Linked DNA regions of Homo sapiens: regions 1, 3, 4 and 5 are each linked to region 2. Evidence: promoter capture Hi-C in human tissues and cell types (Jung and others, 2019). All regions are on one chromosome and are shown on one strand. The core of a region is centred on a gene start or on the middle of the fragment in contact, and the rest is flanking DNA. Distances in the headings are between cores, read along the strand shown. Region 1 has its middle 17 kb from the start of LINC01665. Region 2 holds the start of CCT8L2 (chaperonin containing TCP1 subunit 8 like 2). Region 3 overlaps XKR3 (XK related 3). Region 4 holds the start of XKR3 (XK related 3). Region 5 overlaps XKR3 (XK related 3).

The links. Contacts are between HindIII fragments. The study calls those that stand out against the background at their distance.
Region 1: a fragment that was not itself captured here is called in contact with the fragment with the promoter of CCT8L2 in region 2 in 6 of the 25 tissues and cell types used here (IMR-90 fibroblasts, dorsolateral prefrontal cortex, heart right ventricle and 3 more).
Region 3: a contact is called between a fragment that was not itself captured here and the fragment with the promoter of CCT8L2 in region 2, in 2 of the 25 tissues and cell types used here (dorsolateral prefrontal cortex and lymphoblastoid cells).
Region 4: the fragment with the promoter of XKR3 here is called in contact with the fragment with the promoter of CCT8L2 in region 2 in 3 of the 25 tissues and cell types used here (adrenal gland, aorta and bladder).
Region 5: a fragment that was not itself captured here is called in contact with the fragment with the promoter of CCT8L2 in region 2 in 5 of the 25 tissues and cell types used here (dorsolateral prefrontal cortex, heart left ventricle, lymphoblastoid cells and 2 more).

Annotation. Positions count from the first base shown.
Region 1 is chr22:16,729,880-16,732,698 of GRCh38, reverse strand. No RefSeq gene overlaps it. Among named protein-coding and RNA genes, the nearest start is that of LINC01665, 17 kb to the left of the region's middle. The HindIII fragment of the contact is 6,420 bases long and covers 1-2,819 here.
Region 2 is chr22:16,591,498-16,594,246 of GRCh38, reverse strand. CCT8L2 (chaperonin containing TCP1 subunit 8 like 2) reads left to right here and starts at 1,437. Exons shown (of 1, transcript NM_014406.5): 1 at 1,437-2,749. The coding sequence starts at 1,697. The HindIII fragment of the contact is 16,456 bases long and covers 1-2,749 here.
Region 3 is chr22:16,807,824-16,810,523 of GRCh38, reverse strand. It overlaps XKR3 (XK related 3), which reads left to right. Exons shown (of 4, transcript NM_001386955.1): 2 at 2,441-2,700. The coding sequence starts at 2,451. Among named protein-coding and RNA genes, the nearest start is that of XKR3, 16 kb to the left of the region's middle. The HindIII fragment of the contact is 8,401 bases long and covers 1-2,700 here.
Region 4 is chr22:16,824,023-16,826,722 of GRCh38, reverse strand. It overlaps XKR3 (XK related 3), which reads left to right and starts at 1,312. Exons shown (of 4, transcript NM_001386955.1): 1 at 1,312-1,432. The HindIII fragment of the contact is 14,808 bases long and covers 1-2,700 here.
Region 5 is chr22:16,790,039-16,792,738 of GRCh38, reverse strand. All of the region lies in intron 3 of XKR3 (XK related 3), which reads left to right. Among named protein-coding and RNA genes, the nearest start is that of XKR3, 34 kb to the left of the region's middle. The HindIII fragment of the contact is 6,994 bases long and covers 1-2,700 here.

The DNA of each region.
Region 1 (2,819 bases), core at 152-2,651, 140 kb before region 2:
AGATTAACACATTAATTAAGTAGCTATGGTTATTTTTAAAAAGTATTTCTGGTTTTAGTGTTTTCTTTGAAAAGTATCTACAGTCTAATTGGGGACCCAGATACTAAGCAATCATTTGAACTTAGTTGAGAACAAAGCTTAGAATCCAGGTACATATTGCTGTAAGAGTGTATTTAATAGGACCATTTTACTCAGTAAATGAAGTGAGTGGATGTTTACTAAGAAGTTGCTATGCTGAATTAAAATACTACTTCATCTGGCAGGGTTGAGATTAACTTTACTAATTAAAGGGTTTGAAATTCTTGGGGCACTACCATTTGAGGCTAAACAAAGTTGAAAACCTGTTTTTCTGCTCGTCAAAGTCCTTCCTCCCTGATTCTCATCTCCTTTCTGGGGATCAGTCTTTTCTTAAAATGATTTAAAGAAGAAAATATGATCTGTCTTTAAGGTAAATCTTACTCTACACACTACAACCATATCCCAACTGGCAAGGCCACAAACCTGTGAAATCATACTCATTTAATGAGACCATGTCTAGTACATCAAACATCCAGGCCTGGTGGAACTTTGCCATGCTGGGGTTCATTTTCTTACAATCTCTCTACCTGAGAAGGACGATCAATGCTATATGTCTTGTCTCCAGTGCTCTTTCTCCTCATTCCTTATTTCTAACTAATGACCGTACTTTACAAGTGCTTGAGAACCACCCATAGTTCATCATATCTACTACCACATGAGAACACAAACACTTTCCCCAAAGAAGTTGCAGTATCTATAGAACCATAACTCTTTTAAAACAATTGAACAGCAATTTGAATTTCCTTCACAGCTGGATTTTTGGATTAAAGTATCCGCAATCAGGATATTCTAGTTTCTCTCAAGATAGTGGGTCATATTTGCTTCACATATATGTAAAGAAACGATTGATTTTTTTGCACTTTTCATAAAACCAAGGAATGCTATTTCTTACATTTGAATTTGTGTCCACCTCTTGCTAAACTGAAATAATATATGGCTGTTAAATAGTTGTTTCTGCTCCAGGTACCACTCGACATGGTTCAAAAATTTCAAGGTTGTTAAAGCCAGGACACACTTTGTTATTCACAAAATAATAAATTCTGAATTCTAACAGTGAGGAGGCAAAACTGATGAGCATATTAAAAATTGGGTTCTATGTGGCAATACATTAAGTTACAAAGTACAACTCTGAACTGTAGACTTTTAAGTTACTGTTTGCGTATACAGTCTTTGCGTATTTACACTGTAGATAGAAAGATGAATAAGACATTCTTAAGAGTTGATGGGTGGAGAGTTATATAAATAAAGAATTATTTCGAAAGATGTTTATAGAGTGAGAATGACATTTAATAGGAGCATTTTACTCATCAAGTATAGAGGTTATGCTGAGTGTACCCAGGTGAGAGCTGATCATTTAACCTGGAACCAAAGTTTAAAGGTCATAATAAATTAATTGAGGAAATGTTTTTAAGTGAAATATACATTTTTAAATATGACCGAGTCCTTTTATAATTATCAACAGTTTTGGTTTTCATTAAACATTAAGTGCCTCTTTCTTAATTCTTCACCGGCTTTCCCTGCCACCTGCTACGCATTACGGTTCCCCCAACTACCAACCTTTAGTGTCCTATAAAATGAAACTCTTCTTAATTTTAGCATGAATAAAACATAATAAGCAGGATGAATCAGCCACCAGAAGCTCACATAATATATTCCAGGAACAAATTAAAGTGACATTTGTTTAATAAACTCCTTTTATATCCATGAACTGGCTTGTCTTCATTGAAAGTAAATATTCAAAGCCACTGAGATTGAACTAAAAAGTCAGAGTAACACTTTTGGACTCTCCCAATTTATTCTTGATTAATGACTAAGGTATTAGGTTTCATTTCTTCTCAATTCCAGTAAAAATTAACTTTTTAGTTTCTGCTAATGCCTTTTCATTAAATGTAAAATACTGATTACTAATGATTTTCTTCTGTGTTGTGTAATTTAAAAAAATAAAATTTAATTTTCCCAGTAATAAGCACAGTTTAAAAATTTTTTTCCACATAAGTTTATCATTCAAAATTTCAGAACTTGCTATAATTGCCACAAAAAAAGTCTTGATGTCACCTCCTCTGAAAACTATTTTAGGCAGAATAGATGGGCCAACCTGAGTCACAAACGATAACTGTGTCTTGTAACTCTACGTACTATGATCCAGAGTTTCTGCTGTGCCACAATGGTGTCTAGAAGAGAAATTTTCCTTCCTGTGGTTCCGTTTAATCAAGAGGGCTCCGTGTTGCAGAATAGCTCCCAGTGTTCATTTAGTCAAATTCTTTGAATTCACTTGATGTTCATTTCCCCAGTACACACCCTGCCAGTAGGATGGTTGGACTAGAAGGGATTGTGGTGTCAGTTGTTTTGCATATATCAAACTAACATTTCTTCTCCATCCAGCTTTTGTGGCAGATAATTCATTAACAAATTTATTCTTTTCCAGTTCTTACAATCGGTTCCCTAAGACACCTTATTTTCCTTTGCTCCTATTTGGCCTTGGTCAAGCATCATAGCCTATGTCATCAGCGAAGTTACAGTAACTGTAACCCATAAAGACACAACAGGTCGTGAGCCCGAGTGGCCATCTCCTCCCTATGTAAATTTGTGGGCATAAACAGAAATGTGCTCTTACTGAATACATCATAATCCTGTATGTTCTACAAATGTTTTTACTTATTCAGGAAATTATTGATGTTTTTGTGGCCTAACACAGCAGTAATTTTCATAATTATGCTATGAATACTTAGGAAATATAGATC
Region 2 (2,749 bases), core at 188-2,687:
ATGGCTCACTGAAGCCTCAACCTCCTGAGCTTAAGCAATCCTCCCGCCTCAGCCTCCCAACGTGCAGGGATTACATGCATGAGCCACCACGCCCAGACTAAATATGTGTTAAACTAAAGCAGAAGCATCATTACCCGAGTAGGCTCTATAGGAGGAAAGAGGAGACAAGTGAGGAAAGGAGAGAGAATGAAAAAAAGAGACTTAAATTGTAAGCATTGAAGGTTAGGATGGGAAGGCGATTCGCATTTAAATCTCAGGACCCCATTTAGGCTTCTACCTCCCTGACCGCTGGGAGGCTGGTTGCTTTTCACCCCTCTGGGTTCACTTCTATTTGTCTGTGAGCTGTCAGCATCCTTCCCCACTTGTCTTGCCCTGCCTCTGCCAGGGAGGCAGAGTTGGGAGTCGTGGCACAGGCATGCACGCTGTGCAGCCTCCCACACCTGCACCCTGAAAGACCAACAGACACCCTAAGAAACCTGATACACAAGCACAAACTGATAAGATACCCAAAAAGTCAAAGGCAGACAGCAAAACATGGCTAATATTACACAGTACTGCAAGAGAAAGTAACACCAAAACAAAACAAAACACAGACATCATCTCTCAGTTCCTTCTCAAATAAAAAAAAAAGGCCAGGTGCAGTGGCTCACACCTGTAATCCCAGCACTTTTGGAGGCCGAGGTGGGCGGATCACTTGAGGCCAGGAGTTTGAGACTAACCTGGCCAACCATGGCCAACATGGTGAAATCCCCCTATCTCTACTAAAAATATAAAAAATTAGCCGGGCGTGGTGGCTGGCACCTGTAATCCCAGCTACTGAGAGGCTGAGGCAGGAGAACTGCTTGAACCTGGGAGGTGGAGGTTGCAGTGAGCTAAGATTGTACCACTGCACTCCAGCCTGGGCAACAGAGTGTGACTCTGTCTCAAAAAAAAAAAAAAAAAAAGGGTGGGTGAGGTGGTGGCTCACACCTGTAGTCCTAGCACTTTGGGAGGCCAAGGTGGAAGGCTCTCTTGAGGCTAGGAATTCGAGACCTGCCTGGACAACAGACAGAAACACTGTCTCTACAAAAAATAAAAAAACTAGCTAGGTGTGGTGGTGTGTGCCTGTAGTCCCAGGTACTTGGGAACCTGAGCAGGAGGACTGCTTGAGACCAGGGAGCTGGGCCTGCAGTGAACCATGGTTATGCCCCTGCACTCCAGATAGGGTGAAATGGGTAGTTTTTCACTTGATCTCCTCCTCATTGTCTCTTACGTTTAAACAAGTCTCAAACCTGGTGCAGAGGTGCATGTACCTCCATTGCTGGACAAGGCCTGACTTTTGCCTGCTGGTAGGGCCTCCTCAGTTCTAACCAGCCTTCTGTGACCTCATTCTCTATCCTGGTTCCATTTTCCACTTTGTGACTTCATCAGTTAAAGATCCCATTTCAGCCACCAAGGTTGAGAGGCCCCAAGACCCAGTTCCTTTACAGAATCAACCCTGGGGTGGCTTTAGGACTGGGCTCTTTGGAGCTCATCCTTGGACCCACAGTGGAGTGCTGGTCCGTGCTGATGTCTTCAGATACCAATCAATGGGCATTTGGCTCCTTGCTTCCACTGACCTCTTGAGTACTTTCAACGATCGGTGTCAGGAGTGCCCCAGCTGCTGTTTCTAGAGCATCTCTGCAACCCACGGTGGCCTCTCCTCTCTCTGCGGGCCATGGACAGCACAGTCCCTTCAGCCCTGGAGCTGCCCCAGCGGCTGGCACTGAACCCAAGGGAGAGCCCGAGGAGTCCAGAAGAGGAGGAGCCCCACCTGCTGAGCAGCTTGGCTGCAGTCCAGACCCTGGCCAGTGTCATCCGGCCTTGCTATGGCCCCCACGGCCGGCAGAAGTTCCTGGTGACCATGAAAGGAGAAACAGTGTGCACGGGGTGTGCCACTGCCATCCTCAGGGCCCTGGAGCTGGAGCACCCAGCAGCATGGCTCCTCCGGGAAGCAGGACAAACCCAGGCAGAGAATAGTGGGGACGGCACAGCCTTCGTGGTTCTGCTGACGGAAGCCTTGCTGGAACAGGCAGAGCAGCTGCTGAAGGCTGGCCTGCCTCGCCCGCAGCTCCGGGAGGCCTACGCCACGGCCACTGCAGAGGTCCTGGCCACACTGCCCTCCCTGGCCATCCAATCTCTGGGGCCTTTGGAAGATCCATCCTGGGCCCTCCATTCTGTGATGAATACCCACACCCTGTCCCCCATGGACCACTTGACCAAGCTGGTGGCCCACGCCTGCTGGGCTATCAAGGAACTAGACGGCAGCTTCAAGCCTGAGCGTGTTGGGGTGTGCGCGCTGCCCGGGGGGACACTGGAGGATTCCTGCCTCCTCCCGGGGTTAGCAATATCTGGGAAGCTCTGTGGGCAAATGGCCACAGTGTTAAGTGGTGCCAGGGTGGCTCTCTTTGCTTGCCCCTTTGGTCCTGCCCATCCAAATGCACCAGCAACGGCCCGTCTTTCTAGTCCTGCTGATCTAGCTCAATTTAGTAAAGGAAGCGATCAATTACTAGAAAAGCAAGTAGGCCAGCTAGCAGCTGCAGGAATTAATGTGGCAGTGGTGTTGGGGGAGGTCGACGAGGAGACCCTCACACTGGCGGACAAGTATGGCATCGTGGTGATTCAAGCTAGGTCTTGGATGGAGATCATTTACCTGAGTGAGGTGTTGGACACACCTCTGCTGCCTCGTCTGCTCCCTCCCCAGAGGCCAGGCAAGTGCCAGAGGGTTTAC
Region 3 (2,700 bases), core at 166-2,665, 220 kb before region 2:
AGAGGCTGAGTTAATCGCCTGAGAAATGTGGATGGCCTGCATCTGGGTGATAGCAGGAGGAATAGGGAAAAGTGGCTAGATTCTGCATGTGTCTTAAAAGTAAAACATGCAGAATTTGATGATTAATAGAAATGATGCAATGAAAAGAAAAGCATTAAGGATGACCTTATGTGCCTTAGCAGCAGGACGTAATTATTATCAGGTGAAATGGGAAACATATGGGGAAAGTTGTTTGGAAAGTGGATCAGAATTCAGTCTGTAGCCTTGAGTTCAAATTGCCTATTAAACTCGAATATGTACAACAGACTCCTATAAGTTTGGGGCATTGGTAAGAGACTGGCTGGAGATATAAATATGGGACTCAGTACCATTCAGAAATCCATTGTACAGGAAAAGATAACCAGGAGATTGAGAGTAAATGCATCAGGAATAATTCAAGTAAGAGGGAGACTAAAAAATAACTTTTATAATTGGCCAGGTGTGGTGGCTTGCACCTCCAATGCCAGCAGTTTGGGAGCCTGAGGCGGGCAGAAGGCTTGAGCCCAGGAGCTCGAGACCAGCCTGGGCAATATGAAGAGACCCTGTCTCTACAAAAATACCAAAGTTAGCTAGGCCTGGTGGCCTGCAGTCACAATCACCCGGAAGGTGGAAGTGGAAAGATCGCTTGAGCTTGGGAGGTTGAGGCTGCAGTGAGTCCTTGATCGCACCACTACACTCCAGCCTGGACAACAGAACCAGACCGTGTCTCAATAAACAATGATAGGAATTTAAAAAAAAACTATTATATTTGGCAAAAAGAAAGTTAAATATAGTACTTTTGGTGGACCGTTGGGGATGAAAGCCTGACTGGTTAAGGTAAGTGGAATGTTCAAATGAGAGCATATTATCAATGGCAAAAATATTCAACTGAAGTTTAAGGTAACATATTACATTTAGCAATTAGGGTGTCACTGATGACTTTTGAGAAACCACTGTGACTTCACTGTTGTGGGATAAAACCTGAGAAATAATAAGAAGTGATGGAAAGGAAATAACTAATAGAAATTCTCTGTGGCAATTAAAAGCAGAGAAAAAGTTCAGCACCATGAGAGACAGTTTTTGTTTTGAATTGTAAAATATGGTTTTTTTAATACACGTGTGATAAGGAAATCAGAGCACCGAAGAGGAGAATAAAATAAATTACACAAAAGAGAAAAAGATCAATCATATTGATGGATTGGGTCCAGGAGGACATATTTTAAAATGGGATGAAGGTTTTGTCTTTGAATAAATAAGTGCATATAGATAAAGGTGTGATTTAGATCAGAAAAACAAAAGAAGTTGAGGAATTTAATATTCTGCAGCATAAAATTTAAAGAATTTGAGGAATATTTATGATAAATTATGACAAAGCAATGCAAAGACAGTTCAAGAAATGAACAACTTGTCAAATAAAATAGATAACTTCCTGCTTCTTCCCTCCCACTTTTTTTAACTACTACTTTTACTTTTCCCATTAATATGTTTTTAAAAACCACCAACGTCTTCTGGGGAAATATTATCTTTCTTTCTGGAAATTTGCATTAGATGCTTACTCATTTTTTGTGCTTTCAATATATTAACAGCATTTTTAGTCAGAAAAATATTTCTCTAAAACAATTTCATTTTAATATTTACTTGATTTAAAAGTACTGTTGCCTTTTATTTTCCTTCTTATTCATTTTGTTTTATATTGCTTCCCACACATAGTGACTAATTGATGTTCACAGTATGTCAGTAATTTTTCTGGCGGTTTGTCTACAGAGAACCTAAAATGAGCTGTTTTTCCCCCCAACAAAAGAGAGTTTAAACCTACTATTGCCATGCAGTCTGGATTTTACATCTATTTAAATTGAAACTTTACTAGATTAATAACTTCATAGAGTTAAGTTCAGTCAAGAAACAGTATTTTAAATGCAAATAACCAACATCTAGCAATAAGTGGAACTTAAAGGCCTCACTATTCTGTATTCCTTTACTAATCAGGAATATCTGGGGATAGTTTTCTTAGTGTCATCATGGTTAGACTTGGCTTAGATTGTGCCGTTTTATTTTAGTGGATGTCAGCTGCAGACATTGGCTGAAAAGCACAAAAAGAAAACTTATGAGTAATGAACATTTCTTTCATACTACTTGGAGATAGGACTATCATCTCAGTGCTAAGAGGTAGTTGATGCCTTATAGAAGTTTGATCGTCTACTTCTTTAAAACAATGTTTTCTGAAGAAATAGTATGTCAAATTAGACATCATAGTTCAATATTCCCTAAACCAGACATGGATTTTTCTATTCTGATTAGTGATCCATATCTACCTGTTAACATTTTCTATGAATAGTGAATTATAGAGAATCTTGTTTACTTCTGTTTAAATTTAATACTGAACTCTACTGGATTCACTGACAAGACGACTTTGAATTAGCAGCACCCTGAGAATGGAGACAGTGTTTGAAGAGATGGATGAAGAAAGCACAGGAGGAGTTTCATCTTCGAAAGAAGAAATAGTCCTTGGCCAGAGACTCCATCTAAGCTTTCCTTTTAGCATTATCTTCTCAACTGTTCTCTACTGTGGTGAGGTTGCCTTTGGTTTATACATGTTTGAAATTTATCGAAAAGCTAATGACACATTCTGGATGTCATTTACCATCAGCTTTATTATTGTGGGGGCAATTTTGGATCAAATTA
Region 4 (2,700 bases), core at 63-2,562, 230 kb before region 2:
CATATAGACAAAAGGTAGGTTAATGGTTGTCAGGGGCTGGGGAATAGAAAGAACTGTTAAGTAGATAATGGGGTTTCCTGTTTGATGATAGAAATGTTTTAATAATATAATTTTGAATAATGTAATTTTGTATTATGTGAAACATACCTTAAAAAATTAAAATAAAATCAAATATGAATAAAACTGATTAGATTTCAGAATAAAAAGTTATTCATGTATGTATCTATTCAAAACATTTTTTATTCATATCATAGAATAAATAATACTTTCATTTGGTATGTCTGTAAATATCTGACATGTTAATTATGTAAGATTTTAAAAGCAAGTGACCTACTTATAAGGAGATCCCAAAGAGTGGGAGATTTAAAAATGTAATAATAACAAGAAAGTGTTTTAAGTAAAGTAAATTTGTATGTATGTCTAAGCAGAAAATTTTATTATTTGGTTCCAAGAGCCAAATATCTATTTAAAAAATATTTCTTAAGGAATAATCTCTGTGTCCTGCAACGTAAAGTTATCATTATAAAACAGGAGTCAAATTTGTGAATTAATCTTAGAATTGAATAAAATATTTCTTCTCTTTGAAAAATAATCATGCCCCATTTACAGTAAGAATTTTTATATGTTCATGCTTGAGAGGTGGTATATTAAAATTCTAATGCCTTGGCTTTAAGTGTTGAATATGTGTGGAATAAAAAAATAATGATTTTGATATTTCTTATACTGTAGGAGGCAGTTCTCTCATACTGGAAAGAGGTGTCATTGTTAGAAGCTTGTCTTGGTTTAACATAGTTTAAGTTTTGGGGGTGTATTTTGTTTAGTTCAAAATTTTCCATATTAGCAGTAAGTAACAAAAATGTCCAGATCAGAAAACTCTTTGTGAAAATAAAACAGGTGCTCCTACCAGATGTGGTTCATCAATTTTGACAGAATTTTCATTTAAAAAAGGCAAAATTAAAATTTGTTTAATTGTTTGCTTTCTGGGGAATTTTCTTGTTGCTCTGTCTGAAGGAAGTACAGACTTCTTTTGTGATGGGAGGGGATGAATGGCTACTAGACAGCAGCAAAAGATGGGCCATGGGTGCGAAGAGAAGAGGGAGTTAATGGGAGAATCAGAAAAATATCACCTTAAATGTAGGACAATCGAAGTCAAATTGTGGCTGAGCGTTTTGGGGAACTAAGATGTGTGACTCTGTAGGGAGGAAGAATGCCTTGGTGTTTTCAAGGGAAGATGACTCAGCTAGTGCAGTCACCTGACTCCAAACTGCAAGCCTACTTTAGTCATAAAAAGGCAAGAAAATAAGCAATTTTACCTGCAAAGCAAAGGACGTAGTGTTGAAAACGAGACCAGAAATGGTGCTGTTAAAGAGGTGAACAAAAGCATTTACTTTTTGAACGAGTTTCAAAACTGTGAGGGTGGCAAATAGGCAAGGTAAGTAGGAGCAGCCCTCGACCATCTCAGATCAGCTTCTTCAGCCTACCTTGACCTCTGCCTGTCTCAGCTGGGGATCTTAACATAAATCTCTGGATATCAGGGGTGGCTTTTCCCGAGTCTTGAGCCTAGAAACTCCCTCTCTTGATTCTGATTTTCAGAGAAGAGAAGCAGCTGCTTAGCATTTGGGTGGGACAGTGGTTGTTACTAATATATTACAAATTTCAGCATGTTTTTAAACATCAGAAGGAGAAAGTGCTTCGTATTTAAGTGAAATCTCAAAGGGGCAGAAATCTACCATATTTTTTGTTATTCAGATGCAGTGATGCACTGGCTATGTGAGTACAAGAAACAAGTTCACTTAATCACAAACACATGCCTAAATTCCATTGTTCAGTGACTTCACTTTCACTTTCTACCTTGAATTTTAGACTCTGGAAGACCCATTTCTAAACTCTGTGGCCCTTTTCATATGTGCATATTTTCATAAGTGTTTTCCAGAAATAAATTATAGAGGTCCTTCTGTGAGTCCAAAGGAGAAGGAAGTGGTTGGGGCAGCCAGAAAGGTGCAATCTGCATTAATATCATATTCGATGTATGGATTGCTGGGGAGAGAGTGGGATATATTTCTTATAATGTTGGATGTATTTTTCCCCTATCCTGAGGCCCAGAAACTCTGATGTCTCTGCAGTTGTCTTTCCATGCTTTCCTTTATACCCCTCGCCTACTTCTGTAATTTCTCTCTCTACTCTCCCTCCTCCTTCCCACCCTTTTTCTTTCCATTTGTGCTCTCTCCCTCCATTCCTTCTTTTTCCCTTTTCTTTCTTTTTGTGGGTATCTGGTAGCTGCAACTTATTTTCTTTCTGCTTTTCTTACTCACTTACTCTATTTACTAGGTATTTAACAATTGTCTTTAAAAGTAACATCCTTTCTTTCTTAAAATTTTATCCCTAATGGACATTATTTGGGGAAAAACATTTTTATGGTGCCTCTAGATAAGTAATTATATCATCTGCACATGATTCCCGTATTTTCTTACATGCCCGTTCCTCGTAGGTGGAAATGGGTACTTCATTGTACTCTTCTCTCTTTATTTACAAGAGTGTTTTTTCTGTCTCATCCCTTTAAATAACACATTGTCTCTCTTTTTGTGACATTGAATTAATTAGGTCAGATGCGATTTTTCTCATCTATTCATTTGAAGACTGTTTCATATTGCTTCTAGGGCCTATTTGCAAGCAACAAATTATTTTGTTGTTGTTGTTGTT
Region 5 (2,700 bases), core at 59-2,558, 200 kb before region 2:
AAGATGTCATTTGACATCAGATGTCATTTGAAATTCTTTCGTAACAAGGGAAGTTTTTAGCATATATGTGAACAACAAACTAAGACTAAGAAGTTGTTTGCCAAATCAATAGATATTTGACAAGTGGGCATTCAAACCAAATGAGAAGCAGTTAGGTACACGTTTACATGTGTCCAAAATTATTGAATTATATGAGACCTTCAGCAGTAAAACAAATGATGGCTGAATAAACCTATAACTATACAACCACAACCATATCCCATGGGATAGGATCTATAGTTGGAAATTTTTTTACAAATAAGTTCTACTAGCTTCATGGCATTAGATGCAGTTTTCATTGTACGCACAGATCTGTAGACTGCGTGTATTTGTGTGTTCACTTTTCCTATTACCACTAATTTTTTTAACAAGGTTCATAATTATTTGCTTTCTATTAACTGACAAAATGTAGACGGACACCTATTTATAAACATATGAAAATTGTGTCAGTGTAGGCCGGGCATGGTGGCTCACACCTGTAATCCTAGCATTTTAGGAGGCCAAGGTGGGTGGATCACATGAGGTTAGGGTTTCAAGACTAGCTTGGCCAACATGGTGAAGTCCTGTCTGTCTCTACTAAAAATACAATAATTAGCTGGACATGGTAGCGGGTACCTGTAATCTCAACTATTCGGTAGGCTGAGGCAAGAGAATGGCTTGAACCCAGCAGACGGAGGATGCAATGAGCCGAGATAGTGCCATTGCACTCCAGCCTGGGGAACAAGAGCAAACCTCCATCCCCTCCAACAACAACAACAAAAGCAAAAAACAAACAAAAAAAAAAAACAAAAAGAAAATGGTACCAGTGGTCAGTGTAATACAATTTTATGGTGTGGCTGTTTTTCCCCTTTAGTCTCAGAGTCAGTCTCTCTCTCTCTCTCTCTCTTTCTCTCTCTCTCTCTCTCTCTCTCTCTCTCTCTCCCTCTCTCTCCCTCTCTCCCTCTCTCTCCCTCTCTCTCCCTCTTTCTCCCTCTCTCCCTCTCTCTCTCCCCCCTGCCTCCTTTCTTTCTCTATTTTTTTTTTACATCGACAGGTTACATTGTATGTTTTTATTGTGTACAAGATGATGTTTGAAGTATATATATAACATGGAATAGTTAAATCCAGAGAATTAACAAATGCATTTTCTCACGTAGTTATCTGTTTTTTTTTTTATTTTGGTAAGAGCAATTAATATCCATTCTGTGTACATATTTCAACAATATACCTTCACTAACTGTAGTGACCCTGCTATACAATAGATCTCTTTAAATTTATTACTCCTATCTGACTGTAATTATAAATCTTTTGATAAAATTCTCCTCATTCTTTCTTTTCCTATAACCACTCTAGTCTCTGGTAACCATTGTTTCACTCTCTATATCCACAGAGTCTTTTTTTTTTTAAGTTTTCTCATAAAAGTGAGACCATTTTTTTTCACTCAACGTAATGTCTTCCAGGTTCATCCCTGTTGCTGCAGATGAGAATTTCATTCTTTTTTATAGCTGAATACTCTTCCATTGTGTATATGTACCACATTTTCTTTATGTATTCATTCACTGATGGACACTTGAGGTGATTCTATATCTTGGCTACTGTGAATAATGCTGAAATAAACATGAGAGTGTATATATCTCTTCAACATACTGGATTCAATTCCTTTTGATACATTCTCAAAAGTGGAATTTCTGGATAATGCATTAGTACTAATTTCTAATTTTTGAGGAAGCTCCAAACTGTTCATGGAGTAAAATGGGTTTAGTGATTTGCATTATCACCCATAATGTGCAAGAGTTTTCGTTCCTCCATATTCTTTTTTTTTTTTCAACGTTTCTTTTTTCTTTTTATTCTTTAAATAATGGCTGTTCCAACCAGGATGAGGTGAAGTCTCATACAGGTTTTGATTTACATGTCTTCTTTTGAAAAATGCCTTTTGAGAAAGGCCTATTAAGAGACCTATTTTCTTTACGGAGAATTGTTTATTTTTTTCTTTCTAATTTTTAAAATTTAACTTCTATTTTAGTTTTAGGGCTACATATGCAGGTTTGTTATATAAGTAAACTTGTATGATAGGGGTTTGTTGTACAAATTATTTCATCACCCAGGTATTAAGCCTAGTGTCCATTAGTTGTTTTCACTGATGTTCTCCTTCCTCCCACTCTGTAGCCTCTAATGGGCCACAGTGCGTGTTGTTTCCCTCTATTTGTCCATGTGTAATCATAATTTAGTTCCCAGTTATAAGTGAGAACACGTGGTATTTGTTTGTTTTGCTTTTGAATATTTTTAAGTTCCTTGTATATTTTAATTAACCCCTTGTCTGATGTATAATTTGCAAATATTTGCTCTCATTCTATCACTCTGATTTTTTTTTTTTTTTTCTGCGTGGAAGCTTTCTAGTAGGATGAAACCTCATTTGTCTGTTGGTGGTTTTGTTGCTTGTGGTTTTGAGGTCTTATCCAAAAAAAAAAAAAAAATCCTTGCCCAGACCAAGGTCATTAAGTTTGCCCTGTGTTTTATTAGGTTTGACAGTTTAGGGTTTTCATTACATATTTATTTTTAAACGTTTTTAAAAATGTATTTTTACAGATGAGGTCTCACTGTATTGCCTAGGGTTAGTGCAGTGGCATGAGTGTGGCATGCTACAGCCTTGCACTCCTAGGTTCAGGTGATCCTCCTGACTCA